Regions from separate parts of the Homo sapiens genome. Here region 2 is linked to region 1. The links are contacts of gene promoters, found by promoter capture Hi-C in blood cells and fetal thymus (Javierre and others, 2016). All regions are on one chromosome and are shown on one strand. Each heading gives the region's core, a stretch centred on a gene start or on the middle of the fragment in contact. The rest is flanking DNA. Distances are from core to core; before and after follow the strand shown.

What was found. The method cuts DNA at HindIII sites, captures the fragments that hold promoters and counts their contacts. A CHiCAGO score of 5 or more calls a contact.
Region 2: a fragment that was not itself captured here is called in contact with the fragment with the promoter of CSK in region 1 in 3 of 17 cell types (non-activated CD4 T cells, fetal thymus and total CD4 T cells); the score reaches 6.5 in non-activated CD4 T cells.

What each region holds. Positions count from the first base shown.
Region 1 is chr15:74,777,030-74,784,739 of GRCh38, forward strand. It overlaps CSK (C-terminal Src kinase), which reads left to right and starts at 5,051. Exons shown (of 13, transcript NM_004383.3): 1 at 5,051-5,691. RefSeq lists enhancers at 726-1,256, 4,501-4,620, 4,641-4,710, 5,753-6,328, 7,211-7,340 and 1 more and silencers at 1,599-1,893, 4,931-5,150, 5,261-5,520. The HindIII fragment of the contact is 10,374 bases long and covers 748-7,710 here.
Region 2 is chr15:73,994,109-74,001,818 of GRCh38, forward strand. It overlaps PML (PML nuclear body scaffold), which reads left to right and starts at 608. Exons shown (of 9, transcript NM_033238.3): 1 at 608-833; 2 at 3,896-4,368. The coding sequence starts at 705. It also overlaps a transcript of STOML1 not described here. RefSeq lists enhancers at 1,021-1,190, 3,480-3,982. The HindIII fragment of the contact is 4,510 bases long and covers 864-5,373 here.

The DNA.
Region 1 (7,710 bases), core at 3,801-6,300:
AGCCCCAGCACTGGCCGGATCTCCCTGGCCACCTTCCCTGAAGGCCCCTTTCCCCCTACTTTCATGTCTCAACCCATCCCCACAGCTCAGTGAGACCCTGCACCCTGCACCCTGCACCTTGGATTCATGCCAGGCCTGAGTGACCCACGGCCCATGCCTTTTCTGCTTGGTCCCATTGCCTCACGGGTGCCCCCAAGTTCTGCTTCCTGTCTGTGCCACCGTTAAGCCTCTTTCCTAGTGATGACTCCCGCGACAGCCTCTTTCCGGAGGAGGCGCATTCCTTAAGGGCCTGGTGGGGATGGTGATGACAGGGCCAAAGGACAGCTCCCAAAGCTGGAAAGCCAGCCACTGCGGGGGGCCTGGAGGTGCTGTCAGCAAGGGAAGCTGCCCGGCCCCTCTTGCTAGCAGCCAACTCAGCCTGAGCACCTGCTCTGCAGGAAATAGAAGGGGACTTTGCTGGAAATCTGCCTTTAATCTTGGCTTCCTGTTTTCTGCCCTGGGGGACTGCCCAGACGGTCTGAGTTTCAAGCTATTTCACACCAGCTTCTCTAAACTGTCATCTCTGTGCAAAGAGGCTGGGGGAGGGGAGGAGGCTGGGTGGAGAGAGGAGCGGCCCTTCCCTTCCCAGGGGACCCCATAAGGGTATAAATGCACATACATGTGCATAAGCTCTGGACTGCTGGAGGCCAACCCAACTTTGCATGGAGCTATCCCATTTGGCACTTGTATCATCAAAATGCAGCCAGAAGCTTCTCTCTGGTTCCCCACATCCAGGGGTGGGTCTCCAACCTCTCCTCTCTTCTCCATTCCCCTGGGGCAGGCCCAACAGCCAGGCAAGAGTGGCCCAGCCTCAGAGAGCTAGTGTTCAGTTCCCAACACTGCCTTGACTCCACATTTCACAGGCATCCCAAGCTCATTTTGTCCAAAACCAAACTCCTGAGTGTTCCCCCAGCCTGGCACTCTCCCCAGGTTCTCCCATCTCGCACCATCTCCCCAGGTGCTCCAGCCACACCTGAGGACTGAGGAGTCATGCCTGATTTCTCCTGTGGCCTCACTCCCCACAAACAACCCCTCACGGAGAGCTGCCCTGGGACTTGCCTTTGTCCATTCACTTCCCTATCCCGCTGCTTCCACCAGGGCTAGACCCGTCAGCCCTGGTCCAGGCCATGCAACAGCCTCCTCACTAGGGCTTTGACCTTTGACCTTAACTTTTTTTTTTTTTTTTTCTGGAGTCAGGGTCTCACTCTGTTGCACAGGCTGAAGTTCAGTGGCTCACTGCAGCCTCCATCTTCCCACCCTAAGTGATCCTCCCACCTCAGCCTGGCTGAGATGGGAAGATTGCTAGCTACCAGCACACACCACCATGCCTAGCTAATTAGAAATTTTTTTTTTGTAGAGACAGGGTCTTGCTCTGTTGCCCAGGCTGGTCTCAAACTCCTGGCCTCAAGTGATCCTCTTGCCTCAGCTTCCCAAAGTGCTGGGATCACAGGCGAGAGCCACAGGGCCCAGCCGACCTTCACTCTTTATCATATCACTACCCTGCTTATAAACATCTTTCAATGGCTCCCCATTGCTCATATGATAAAACCTAAACTCCTGTAATAAAAATCTCTGGCCCACAACACCCTATAGAATCTGTCCCTTCCTCAAACACCACTCTCCCCTGCTTGCCGGTCTCATCACCTTGGCCTTCTGGCTGTCCCTTGAGCCACTGAGGCTTTCTGTGCCTCAGGGTCTTTCACTATCTTCCTCCCCACCTGCAATACCCTCCCCCACTCCTCCAACACTGGCCTGGGGCGTGGTGGCTATCGCCCGTAATCCCAGCACTTTGGGAGGCCAAGGTGGGTGGATTATTTGAGGTCAGGAGTTTGAGCCCAGCCTGGCCAACATGGTGAAAACCATCGCTACTAAAAACACAAAAATTAGCTGAACATGGTGGCACACACCTATAGTACCAGCTACGTGGGAGGCTGAGACAGAAGAATGGTTGAATGCCAGAGCGGGAGGTTGTGGTGAGCCGAGATCATGCCACTGCACTCCAGCCTGGGCAACAGAACAAGACTCCGTCTCAAAACAAACAAACAAAAAACAAAACAAAACAAAACAAAAACTTACTAAGACAGTTGTAGATAAAGGCAGATTTATTAGAAAAAGTAGGAAAATACATTGCAAGAAGGCAGAAGAGAAGCTGACTGCCAGGAAACAAAAGGTTGTTGGAGATTTTATAGAATTAGTGTTATGCTATCTGTTGAGGAGGTTTTTGTGCAGTATCAAACGCCAAGGGTACAGTGAGCTAACTTGCCAAGGGTACAGTGAGCTAACTTGCAGGAGTCTGGTGATAGTCGGGCACAGGAAGATTGTGAATTATTTGCACAGGAGAGCTATATGTCCTAGACATGAAGAAAGGCAGACTCACAGCTTATCTAATTTCTCTTTTTGCTTTCCCTTGCTCCCACCGACCAGATTCCCTTTCCCTAATTAGCACTTCCCACCTAGCACTTAGTAGGTGCTCAATAAGCATTTGTTTTTTTGTTTTGTTTTGTTTTGTTTTGTTTTTTTGAGACAGAGTCTCGCTCTATTGCCCAAGCTGGAGTGCCGTGGCGTGATCTCGGCTCACTGCAAGCTCCGCCTCCTGGGTTCACACCATTCTTCTGCTTCAGCCTCCCCAGTAGCTGGGACTACAGGCACCCGCCACCACGCCCAGCTAATTTTTTGTATTTTTAGTAGAGACAGGGTTTCACCATGTTAGCCAGGATGGTCTCGATCTCCTGACCTTGTGATCTGCCTGCTTCGGCCTCCCAAAGTGCTGGGATTATAGGTGTGAGCCACGGCGCCCAGCCCAATAATTCCACCAGAGGACAGGTCTGTGGGAGTGGGGCCCTTTATCGATTTGTTTATGGTTTTATCCCCAGTGCCTGGAGTACAGGAAGATTAAAAAATTTATTTCACTTTGCTGAGAAGAGGTGGAGCCAGGATTCAAATGCTGGTCTATTTGACTCCAAAGTTCACAGCTGGGCCACAGCACACCCAGGGGAAAAAGTCAAGTGCATTTGGGGATAAAGAAAGGTTGGTGACAAAACTGGAACAGGGATTAGAGTATTTTCCCCAAATCCCCAGTCTTTTCTTTCCCATTCTGCTAGCTGATTCAGCCAGGGGAGGGGAGATGTCAATTTCTCCCTCCCAGAAGGCTTTGCAGAGCTGCTGAAGTGCTTTCTTGTAGGCTGAGAGGCGGCCCCCCATCCGGCCCCATATTATCATTCCATCTTGACCTCAGAGGAAAGAAAGGGAAACCAGCTCTGCTGAGCACCCTTTCCACTCCCTCACCCCCAGGCCGTTATCTTGCTGAATCTGCACTATCTATCATGAGAGAAGTATATTTTGAGCCTGATCTTACAAAAGAGGAAACAGCTCAGAGACCTTAGGTAACTAGCCCTAAGTCACACAGCTAGTAAGTGGACGGGTTGAAATTTAACTTGGAGACTTGAACCCCAAATTCATCTTTTTTCTGTTACACCACACCTATCTCTGAAACTTACTGGCTGTCTCCTCAAAGGACATCCCTCTCCAAAGGGCTGGCTCCAGCTGGGAAACCGGCCTAAGGGTGCCCTGGGTCAGAGGGCCGACCTGTGGTTTTGGGGGCAACTCCTCCTGGCATCCGAGGCTCTTTAAAACAATCTGCAGCCACACTGTCTCCCAGCTCCGTCTCCCACAGGGCTGTTTGCCCTCTTCTCGCTCCCTCGGGCCTCTTCATGCTTATTTTGTGTTCCAAGACTTTGTCAGCATGCCCCACTTCCTCCCCCCCAACCCCAAGAGTGCCTCTTCCCTCTGTCCACCCAAGCCTGACCCTTGCTTCAGGGTCTAGTCCCTAGAAAGTCCCCCACCTTTACCTCCTCCCTACGCTGGAGTCTCTGGTCTCGCCCTCATCACTGTATCCCCATTCTGTTCCCCGGTCTCACCCTCATCACTGCATCCCCATTCTGTTCCCCCGCCACCCTGCACTCTCCCACCCCTGTCATGCCTGAGCACGCTGTCCTCTCCTGTGGCTCAGAGCAGGTCATCTCCCTGCTTTTCGTTAACAGTGATGTAACAGCCCTTGCTTAACGGAGGGCTCCTCACGTGCCAGCTACTGCATACTAAGCACTTTAAACGTATTAACTCATTTCCTCCCCTCCCCACAAAAACTTAAGAAGTCGGTGCCATTATATATCACCTATTTTACCAAATGGGGAAACTAAAGCACAGAGAGGTTAAGTAACTTGCCCAAGGTCACAGAGCTGCTGACAACTTCTTTATTGCCTCCAGGCTGAACATAAACTCCAAGAAAGTCCCATGAGGCTCTTTGGATCTCTTTTGCCCCTGTTGTTTGCAGGAACCCATCTCCCACCACTCTCCCCCACCCACACTGCAAGCGGCAGCCGCCTGAGCTATATTTAGATCCCAGAAGCCACCAAGCTCCCTCCGCACTCCCCGCCCTTGTGCATGCTGTTCCCTCTGCCTGGTCCCGGCTCTGTGAGGTGTGAGGTCTCCCCGTTAGCCCTAGTTTTCTTTCTGCCTCCTGGGAACCGTGTCCACCACCTCTCCACTTTGATCAATTATTTCCTTGCCGTTGTCTGTCGGCCTGTCAGCCTACCCCCACCCGACCGAGAACGCCTTGACGGTAGTGAAATGGTCTTGCCAATAGACTCCAGAGCAGGCTCCGCCACGATGTCAGCGCCAGGAAATGTTGGTGAATGAATGAATGAAGGCTTTCTGCTGCGAATCAGGCCCACTCTCCACAAACAGACCTGAGGAGAGGGGCCCAGGCCCGGCCCCCAGCGCTTCTGCAGCGGGAAAGCTGCGTCCAGAGAAGGCTGGGAGGTTGCTCCCAGGCCGGCTGAGGAGAGACCCTCGGAGCCTTCAACGCAGCCAGGCGGCAAGTGGGGGCAGGGCGTGGGCGCGGACACACCCCCCGCAGTGCCCCCGGCGCCCGGCAGGGGGCGCCGCCCCGCCGGCCCACGCCCCGCCGCGCGCCGGGCAGGCCCCCTCGCGCAGGCGCGCTGCCGCGGGCGGAGGATCCGGGCCGCGCTTCCTCTCGCCAGGCCTGCGAGCTTCCTCCCAGCGGAGCCCTGGGCGAGCCGAGGTTGGCCGCCGCCGCCGCCGAGCCCGCTGCCGCCCTCCCGCTCCTGCCCCACCCGCGCCTTGCCCGGGGGCTTCTGCCGGGGTGGGGTCCGAGCCGGGCGACCGCCCGGCTGCGCCGCCGTCGGGGCCGTAACCCGGCCCGCCGTCCCTCCCGCCCCAGCCAGCCTCTGGCCGCCGGAGCCCGCGGGGCGTGGAGCGCGAGGAGCCCCGCGGCCCCGATCGAGCGTCCGGGGCGGCCCCCGGCAGCCAGCGCGACGTTCCAAAATCGAACCTCAGTGGCGGCGCTCGGAAGCGGAACTCTGCCGGGGCCGCGCCGGCTACATTGTTTCCTCCCCCCGACTCCCTCCCGCCCCCTTCCCCCGCCTTTCTTCCCTCCGCGACCCGGGCCGTGCGTCCGTCCCCCTGCCTCTGCCTGGCGGTCCCTCCTCCCCTCTCCTTGCACCCATACCTCTTTGTACCGCACCCCCTGGGGACCCCTGCGCCCCTCCCCTCCCCCCTGACCGCATGGACCGTCCCGCAGGCCGCTGATGCCGCCCGCGGCGAGGTGGCCCGGACCGCAGTGCCCCAAGAGAGGTGAGTGCCTGGCCGTCCCGGAGTGTCCCCTGGAGGGAAGAGGGTGGAGGTCGCGCGTCTAGTCTCTGTTGCTGCCACTGTCGCGTCCACTCCCATTCCCCTCTTCTCCCACTTCTCCCTTCTCTCCTTTACTCCCTTGCACGGGTTCGAATTCTCCCAGGAGCCACTGTCAGAACCCAAATTGGAAGGGAGTGCATGAGGGAGGTACTGCCCTGCAGCTCCACGGACTCGTCTTCTCGGGTCATCCCGAGTCCCCCCCTCTGTGGAGCTCAGAGTAGGAGGTGGCTGGAGTCTGGAGGAAGAGGATCCGTATGGGCCAGGTCCCTAGAGAGAGTGCTGGACTCCCCTGCCCTTCCCTGTACAGGGCCTCCCCGCAGGTGCCCTGGCTTGCTTGGTTCTGACCCCTCCCTCATTACCCCACCATGACCCTGCGGGCTGCAAGCAAGCCCAGGGCCCAGCCACCTCGGGTGAGCAGTTAGAAGCCCAGGTCCTAGGACTGAGCCTGTCACCCTTGGCCTCTCAGAAGACCAGGCCTAAGCCAAGGGATCTTTGGGTGGGAAACTGGGCAGGCCTTCTGCCCGGGGGGAGGTAACGGAGCATTAGCACCATGCCCCCACCTTCTGGCACCCTGGGCAGCCCATTCTCCTAGGCTCTTTGTGGCCCAGACCAGGTGTCAGGAAGGGGTGTGTCCAGCCAGCAGATTTTTTGGAGCTTAACTACCAGTTCACTTCCCCGCCCATTTTGTACACCCGGGAACCGAGGCTCAAAGGGAGAAGTTGCTACCCCAGGCCTCTAGTGGAGTTAGGCTGGCTGTCCTTTCATCCCCAGCTATACAGGGCTGGATGGCTGTGGGTGGAAGGAAACCAGGCAGGCACCTTCACCCACTGGGGACACAGGCCCCCAGCCCGGCCCCAGAGGGACCTTGTTGGTTGAGCACGTGCTTCCCTGCAGAGGGCTGGAGGGAGTGAAAGGGCTTCCGGCTCCAGCTGTGGCTGGGTCAGCTAGCAGGAGATGTGGGGAATGTGTGGTGTATGGCCATCTGTGTGGTGTGGCAGGAAGGTCCGGTCCTGGCCCCGGCTCTGAGTTGAAACAACCTGGTGGTCAGTCCTGACCCAGCACTCGCCACACCTATGGCCCAGCTGGCACAGGAGCAGCCAAGTTCAGGATATAAATGGGGTCACATGGGAACCGTGGAAGCTCTGTCTCCACTGGCAGCAGGCTACAGACTGGGGACATGGGAGCATTGTGAGAGTGGGGACACCCAGGGGGCCTGTTTCAAGCTCCTAGTACCCTGGCGGTTCCAGTGTCTTTCTTGGTTGTGGCCACAGCAGGAACAGGGCAAGGACAGCAGGGGTGAGGTTGAGGCCTGGCAGGATCCTCTGGCCCAGGAGAGCAGGCATTGCCCTGGTGGGTGCTGAGCAGTGTCTGGGCTCCCTTGGAGCTGCTGGCAGTTTTGTCCTGCTGGGTCCCTGCTCACGATTTAGGGTTTTTTTGTTTTTTCACTTTTTTTTCTGGCTGTCCTGACATGCACAGTGGAGGGGACCCAGATGTCCTGGGCCTGTGAGACTCCCCTCACATGGCCCCACACCCAGCCCTAACTTCCTTTCCAGCCTGAGGGACTGGGGCTGGAGCCTGACATGGTTAGCTCCCTCCCACCCCAGTCAGCCTTTTTAATTTTTATTTTATTTTATTTTATTTTTTTACCAACTGTGAGCTGTGAAGGTGTGATCCAGGGTCCCAGGGCCTTTGAAGAAAGGAGTCTGGCTTCTGGCTGGCACGTGTGCAGGGATGTGCTTTTCATTGGTGAGCTTGGTGCCCTCCACCCTCTCAGAAGCAGCTGCTCTTCTCTCTGCATTGGGTCAGGGGCAAGGAAAAAGCAGAAAATGTTCCCATTCACCACCGCAGGGGGGCCAGACCCCAAAAGGCTGAGCCACACAGAGTGGCCCTCGGCAAGGGTTGGAAATTTCGGGGACAGAATGCAGCTTCCTCCAAACAAGTATAGGTAGGGGTTGAGACCCA
Region 2 (7,710 bases), core at 1,869-4,368, 780 kb before region 1:
TCCCATCACTCACAGAACTGGTTCAATCTCCTCAGCTAGGATCTTGTCCTAGCACACTCCTTGGGTATCATTTCTCATGAATTCCCTCTTAAATCTGAAAATGGCCAAAATTAGTTCCCAAACAGGCTTTTGCAAGAGCTATCTTTTCTGTTTCAAGTGTCCCCCGTACCCCACCACCTACAACCCTAAATCCCTGGTGAATTTCCACTGCTTTTGCAGGTCCCAGCTGTGGGCTCTCCTTTCCAGAATGTCTCCGTTTGCAGGCTTGCTCTTCCATTACATCTACGGCTCTTAGAAAGCAGGGGCTGCGTGTGGCTCATCTTTGTACGCCCAGCTCCCGGCAGGACGTGGCACGAAGCAGTGCCAGTGTGAACGGATGAATGGATCAAAGCCGGGAGCAGGGCTGCCCCCCTGCAGCTCTGCCCTACCTCTCCCGCTTTACCGTAAGTCAGCGGTAGGTCTGCAGCTCTCCGCCTCTACCTCCTCCCCGCTCTGGGCGTGTCTTTAAAACCCACAGTCGGCCTCTCTGCCCCCTAGAACCGCCCCCAGCTTCTGTCTCACTTCCTCTCCAGAGGCGGGCCCTGAGCCGGCACCTCCCCTTTCGGACAGCTCAAGGGACTCAGCCAACTGGCTCACGCCTCCCCTTCAGCTTCTCTTCACGCACTCCAAGATCTAAACCGAGAATCGAAACTAAGCTGGGGTCCATGGAGCCTGCACCCGCCCGATCTCCGAGGCCCCAGCAGGACCCCGCCCGGCCCCAGGAGCCCACCATGCCTCCCCCCGAGACCCCCTCTGAAGGCCGCCAGCCCAGCCCCAGCCCCAGCCCTACAGAGGTACTATTGGGTTAGGGGATGATGGGGTTAAGCTTTGTTGGTTTGCTGTGGTGGGGAGAGGCGGGAAGAGAGGGTCTAACGGAGGATTTGGTCAAGTACCCTAGAGAGTGACACAAAGCGGGAAGTCCAGACACCAGGGTCCTGACCGTCTCGGGTGGGGCAGGGAAGGGAGGGTAGGATAGAGTAGAAAAGAGGACACGGAGGAGTTGGGGCGGCCTCGCTGGGCTGCGGTTTCTCCACTGAGCAGTTGGGCAAGGTGAGAAGGGTCAGTGGCCTCCGGGCCTGGGCCCTTCCGCCCACCCTCGAGCCCTGCCTCAACTTTGCCTCAGATGCAGGACTTCAGATTAGGGAGGATGGAGGTAGTACCCCTGTTGCGCTGGCCTGGAGCCAGGGGCATGTCCCAGGCACGGCAAAACTAAAACCAACTTCCCAGATCCGAGGTGAGAAACTGGCTCAGACTGAAGAGGTATCTTTGCCAAGGCCTCCCAGCTCATGTGGTTTCTGCTTAAGGAAGCCTCCCCAACGAACCCTTCTCTTGCCACACCTTTCCTGCCCACCTCCCACCTCCCCCGACAAAGGAACTACTTGGGTTTCTTGCTCTGCTGCCTTTCAGGCCCTTTTACTCCCCTTCATGAAAGTACAGAGGACACCGTATTACAGTAACTTTTATAAACATTATTACAACTAAGAATAACATTACTTAACAATACTAGGTAACATTTATGAGCACTTCAAATGTGCCAGGTACTGTATTAAGCACTTTGGTTTTTTTTTGTTGTTGTTTGTTTGTTTTGCTTTGTTTTTTGTTTGTTTGTTTATCTGTTTGTTTTTGAGACGGAGTCTCACACTGTCGCCCAGGCTGGAGTGCAATGGTGCGATCTCGGCTCACTGCAACCTCCTCCTTCCGGGTTCACGCCATTCTCCTGCCTCAGCCTCCCGAGTAGCTGGGATTACAGGCCACGCCACCATACCTGGCTATTTTTTATATTTTTAGTAGAGATGGGGTTTCACTATGTTGGCCAGATTGGTCTCTAACTCCTGACCTCGTGATCCACCCACCTCGGCCTCCCAAAGTGCTGGGATTACAGGCATGAGCCACCATGCCCGGCCTGTTTTTGTATTTTACAAAATGTGGTAAAATATACCTAATGGATAAGTTCCTATGTTAACCATTTATAAGTGTACCATTCAGTGGCATTAAGTAGATTCACAATATTGTGTAACCATCACCACCATCTATTTCCAGAACTTTTTCATTACTCCAGAAACTCTGTACTCTTTAAACCATAGGGGAGGGAAAGATGGCTTGCCTCCACCCTTCTAGTTTCCTTGGCTGGGCTATGAATTAAATAGCCTATGAATTAAATAGTCATAAAATAGATTACCAGCGGAAAACCCATATTTAATTACATATGTATACTCAGGAGTCCCACAATATATGAGACTCAAAGAAAGGTCAGATGATTGAAGCCTGTATAACATCCTGAGCTACGGAAAAGAGCTTGGAGCTTCTGGGTGATGGTGATAACACAAGTTATGGGAGGGTGAGGAGAGGAGCTGTTTGGTGAATAGAGGTTGTCTTGCTATGTAGATTAAAAGTTCTTAGATAATAAAAGTTGTCTGGAGCAGCCCTCTTTTAATATAGATCATTTTACTAATGTAGATTTTCTTTTAAGATATAAATGCCTTTCTTTTTTACAAAAGGAGAGCTTTTCAGAGCTATTCCTGTATCAGCAGTTTCTCAGAATAACCAGCTTAAAATATGCCAAAGAAGTATATTTCAAGAGCCTCCTGCAGTCATACTTTGAAGTGGTGTGTCCTGAGCCCCAGTAATGCAATAGCTCCTCATTTTCTCCTTCCCCTAGCCCTTGGTAACTTCTAATCTACCTTCTGTCCCTATGAACTTACTTATTCTAGATATTTCATGTAAGTGGAATTGTTACCAGTAGAGGATCTTGACTGCAAATTGTTCAGGTTCTTGGCATTTTGAACAAAGAATTGGACAAAATGTACAGCAAAGCAAGGAAAGAGTGAAGCAATGAAAGCAGAGATTTATTGAAAATGAAAGTACACCCCACAGGGTGGGAGCGGCTAGAGCAGGGCTCAAGGACCCCAGTTACAGAATCTTCTGGGTTCCAAATACCCCCTAGAGGTTTCCCATTGGCCACTTGGTGTTCACCCCATTGGTTGCAGAAAGCAACCAACCAGACGTACTTTCAATTTTCCATCTGCCCTGCAGGAAATGGGGTGATTTGCAAAGAGAGTAGCCTCTCTTCCTTTTGTTACTGAGGCATGGAGAGTTGCGGTTTTCCTTTCGATTTAGTTCTAGGAAGTCAGAGGGAATCGGCCTTAGGTTCCCTGCCTCCAGACCCTATTCTCCTGCCTCAGAATCATACAGTGTTTGACCTTTTGTGACTGGCTTATTTCACTTAGCATAATGTCATTGAGGTCTATCTATGTTGTAGCATGTATCAGAATTTCATTTCTTTCTAACGCTGAGTAATATTCCATTATATGTGTAGACCACATTTTGTTTATCTATTCATCTGTTGATGGATACTTGGATTGTTTCTACATTTTGTCTATTGTGAATAGTGTTGCTGTGGACATTGTTGTACAAGTATCTGTTTGGGCCTTGTTTTTACATCTTTTGGTTATATATCTAAGAGTGGAATTTCTGGGTCATATTGTTGTTCCATGCTTACCTCTTTAATGAACCCCCAAACTGTGCATTAAGCACTTTATATGAGGTTGGTACTTAGTGTATCTACCTTCCAAACTGAGTTCCTTGAAGGCAGAATGTATCCTACACCTCTTATATCTCAGAGCCTATTACTGTGGGTGATGAGAAGTAGATGCTCAATAAATGGTGCAGTGAGAGCTGGAGGGCCTGAATAAATGGGGGTATTGGGGTGCTGATAAGCCAGGGTTTTGCATCATCCAATGACTGGCTGGAATGGAATATGAGGTCCTACTCCAGGGTCCAGCTGTAAGGGTGGTTGGCCGGTAGGTGGGGGCTTTTGGGACTTCTCCAGGCCTCACCTGCCTCTCTGGTCCCCCAGCGAGCCCCCGCTTCGGAGGAGGAGTTCCAGTTTCTGCGCTGCCAGCAATGCCAGGCGGAAGCCAAGTGCCCGAAGCTGCTGCCTTGTCTGCACACGCTGTGCTCAGGATGCCTGGAGGCGTCGGGCATGCAGTGCCCCATCTGCCAGGCGCCCTGGCCCCTAGGTGCAGACACACCCGCCCTGGATAACGTCTTTTTCGAGAGTCTGCAGCGGCGCCTGTCGGTGTACCGGCAGATTGTGGATGCGCAGGCTGTGTGCACCCGCTGCAAAGAGTCGGCCGACTTCTGGTGCTTTGAGTGCGAGCAGCTCCTCTGCGCCAAGTGCTTCGAGGCACACCAGTGGTTCCTCAAGCACGAGGCCCGGCCCCTAGCAGAGCTGCGCAACCAGTCGGTGCGTGAGTTCCTGGACGGCACCCGCAAGACCAACAACATCTTCTGCTCCAACCCCAACCACCGCACCCCTACGCTGACCAGGTGAGTAGGCCGGCACAGGGTGGGGTGGTGCATCCAAGTACCAGGTAGAGGGCGAGAGGAGCAAAGATCCAAAGAGTCACACAGCTGAGGACAAGGAGCTTCTGGGGCCTTGCAACTCTAAATGTGGTCTGCAGATATGCAGTGTCCGTGTTGATGACCACAATTTATGCTGCCAGTCCCCACGCAGGTGGATAGTAAGTTTCCAGTTTCCTCCTGTAATAAATAATGCTGCAGAATCATCTTTGCATCTTTATCCAGTAACTTCTTTAGGATAAATTTTTAGAAGTGCCACTGCTGGGTGTAGGGGGACGGGAATTCTACATTTGATACATGTTACCAAACTGCCCTTTAGAATTTAGTGGAATTTTCCGAGAGCACTGACACGGAATCTCAGTAAGGCTGGATTCTAGGATCAGAGACAAGTAGTTAGTTTCTGTCTGAAAAGTTGAAACCATTAACACCAGGCAGCGCTATCTGAGAATGTCTGTATGGGGAAAAAAAATCACATCCAGTTGTAATTATTTTTATTAAACAGATTTTAACTCAGTTTTTTAATAGGTAATACATTCGTACAGTTCACGAACAAAATTTGTAAAGAGGAGAGAGAGAGTGCAATCTTCTGTCCATGCCCAACTGCCTAATTCCCACCACTTCTCCCTCTTCCCATCCACAGGTAGCCATTGTTACTAGTTTTGAATGTTTCTTCTGAGAGTTTCTTTACGAATATATATGCAGGTAGGAGCAATCTTATCAGGTCCTATTTTCCCTCTTTTAGCCAAAAAGGTAGCATAACTATGTGAACTTTTCACCATTAGCAATAGATTGTTCATAGAAGGCGCTTCTTGGTTCTTAGAGATCCACTTGCAAAATGAAAGCATTTTTCGCTGGTTTTTGACAACTCAGAACTATATATGGCTAAACCACATATTTGCTGAACTACATATCTGCTAAACTGACTGTGATTTGTTTCCTGCTTTAGGATAAACTTCCCACACTATCAGAATAAGCTTTCCCCTCCGACTCCTCAACAGCTGGTATCACCACGTTTCTTAGCTTATTGTAAAGGTTGAGTGGCTTTCCACTTGTTTATTGGCCATTGTGTTTCTGCATTTGCGAGTGGCCTGTTTAGGTCCTTTGCCTGTTGTTGTTGTTGTTTCCGTTGAGGAATTAAGGGACTAATTAAAGAATTCAGGAACAAATTCCTCGAAAGAAAAAAATGTATGCATTTCTTTTGCTCTTACAATTTATGCAGTTTTAAAACTTACATATTTATTGGATTTTGATTGAAATTGCAATAAATTAGGAGAAATTGGCTTTATCTCTGGTTCTATCTTTTGGATTTAAAAAATTTTTTTTAATTTTTTTTTTTTTTTTTTGAGATGGAGTCTCGCTGTGTCACCCAGGCTGGAGTGCAGTGGCGCGATCTCGGCTCACTGCAACCTCCACCTCCCGGGTTCACGCCATTTTCCTGCCTCAGCCTCCCAAGTAGCTGCGATTACAGGTGCACATCATCATGCCTGGCTAATTTTTTGGCATTTTTAGTAGAGACAGGGTTTCACTATAATGGTCAGGCTGGTCTCCTGACCTCAGGTGATCCACCTGCCTCGGCCTCCCAAAGTTCTGGGATTACAGGCATGAGCCACCATGCCCAGCCTTATACTAATTTCTTAATGAATTTGTAAGCTTTCATGTTTTGAACGTGATAATGCAGCCATCCCACGGGATCCATGGGAGTCTGTTTCAAATTCATAGATGCTCAAGTCTCTGATATAAAATGGCATAGTATTTGTATATAACCTCTACACATCCTCCTGTATACTTTATTTTTTATTTTATTTTTATTTTTTGAGACGGGGTCTTGCTCTGTCGCCCAGGCTGGAGTGCAGTGCTGCACTCGTGGCTCACTGCAGCCTCAATCTCTTGGGTTCAAACAATCCTCCCACCTCAGCCACCAGATTATACAGGACTGCAGGTGTGCACCACCACACTCAGCTAATTTTTAAATTTTTTGTAGAGACAGGGTTTCACGACATTGCCCAGACTGGTCTTGAGAACTCTTGGGCTCAGGCAGCAACCCTCCCTAGGCCTCTCAAAGTGCTGGGATTACAGGTGTGAGCCACTGTACCCATCCCCTCCTGTATACTTTAAGTCATCTCTAGATTACTTATAATGCCTAATACAATGTAAATGCTATGTAAAGAGTTGTTTTACTATATTTTTGAATTTGTATATTTTTTTATTGTGGTACTTTTTTAATTGATTTTTTTTCGCCTGAATATTTTTGATCCAAGATTTGTTGAATCCACGGGTGCGTAACCTGCAGATACTGAGGGCCAACTGTACATATAAATTGTTTAGCGTAGTGCCTGGCACATATTAAATACTCAGTGAATGTTAAAATTCTATTATAATTTCTCTGCTCTAGAACAATTTGAAGAATATAAGAAATTTAGGCTTATAAAAGTTTTTTGAAAAACCATCTTGGAACTGGTGCCTTTTTTATAGTAGATTTTTGGGAACTTTTCCCATTTTTGCCATGGCATTAATCTGTTTTGGCTCTTGTGTCAGATTTTTGGAAGATTTTCCAGTTCATCCTGAGTTATCTTTCATTATTTAAAAATCTCCTATATGCCTGTAACTATACCCCCTTTTTTTATTTCTGATGTTGTATATTTGTGGTTTAGCAGTCTTTTCAAAGTACTGTACTTTTAGTCTTTCCTTAGATTGCTTACTGATTTTAATGTTTTCCTTCTTTCTGTTTGATCATTTTATTTTTGTCATTTTCTTCCTTCTAACTTTTGTCATTATTCATTTTCTAGCTTCTTGAACTTATAATTCATTTATTTGCAATCTTTATTGTTTAATAATAATAACTTTTTTTTTTTTGAGAATCTCCCTCTGTCACCCAGGCTGGAGTGCAGTGGTAGATCTTGGCTCACTGCAACCTGTGCCTCCTGGGTTCAAGTGATTCTCCTGCCTCAGCCTCCCCAGTAGCTGAGACTACAGGTGCCCACCACCATGCCTGGCTAATTTTTTTTATTTTTAGTAGAGACGGGGTTTCCCCATGTTGACCAGGCTGGTCTCGAACTCCTGGCCTCAAGTGATCCACCCGCCTCAGTCTCCCAAAGTTCTGGGATTACAGGCGTGAGCTACAATGCCCTGCCTAATAATAACTCTTTTAAGGCATAAGTTCTCTGTATATGGTTTTGGCTGTATGCCATAACTTTGATAACTTCATTAGTGTTCTCATAGTCAATCATTTCTCAAATTTCATTTCAGTCTTTTCTTAAAAAGGTTCTCTTGCTTAAGGTCAAGAGTTCGAGATCAGCCTGGGCAACATAG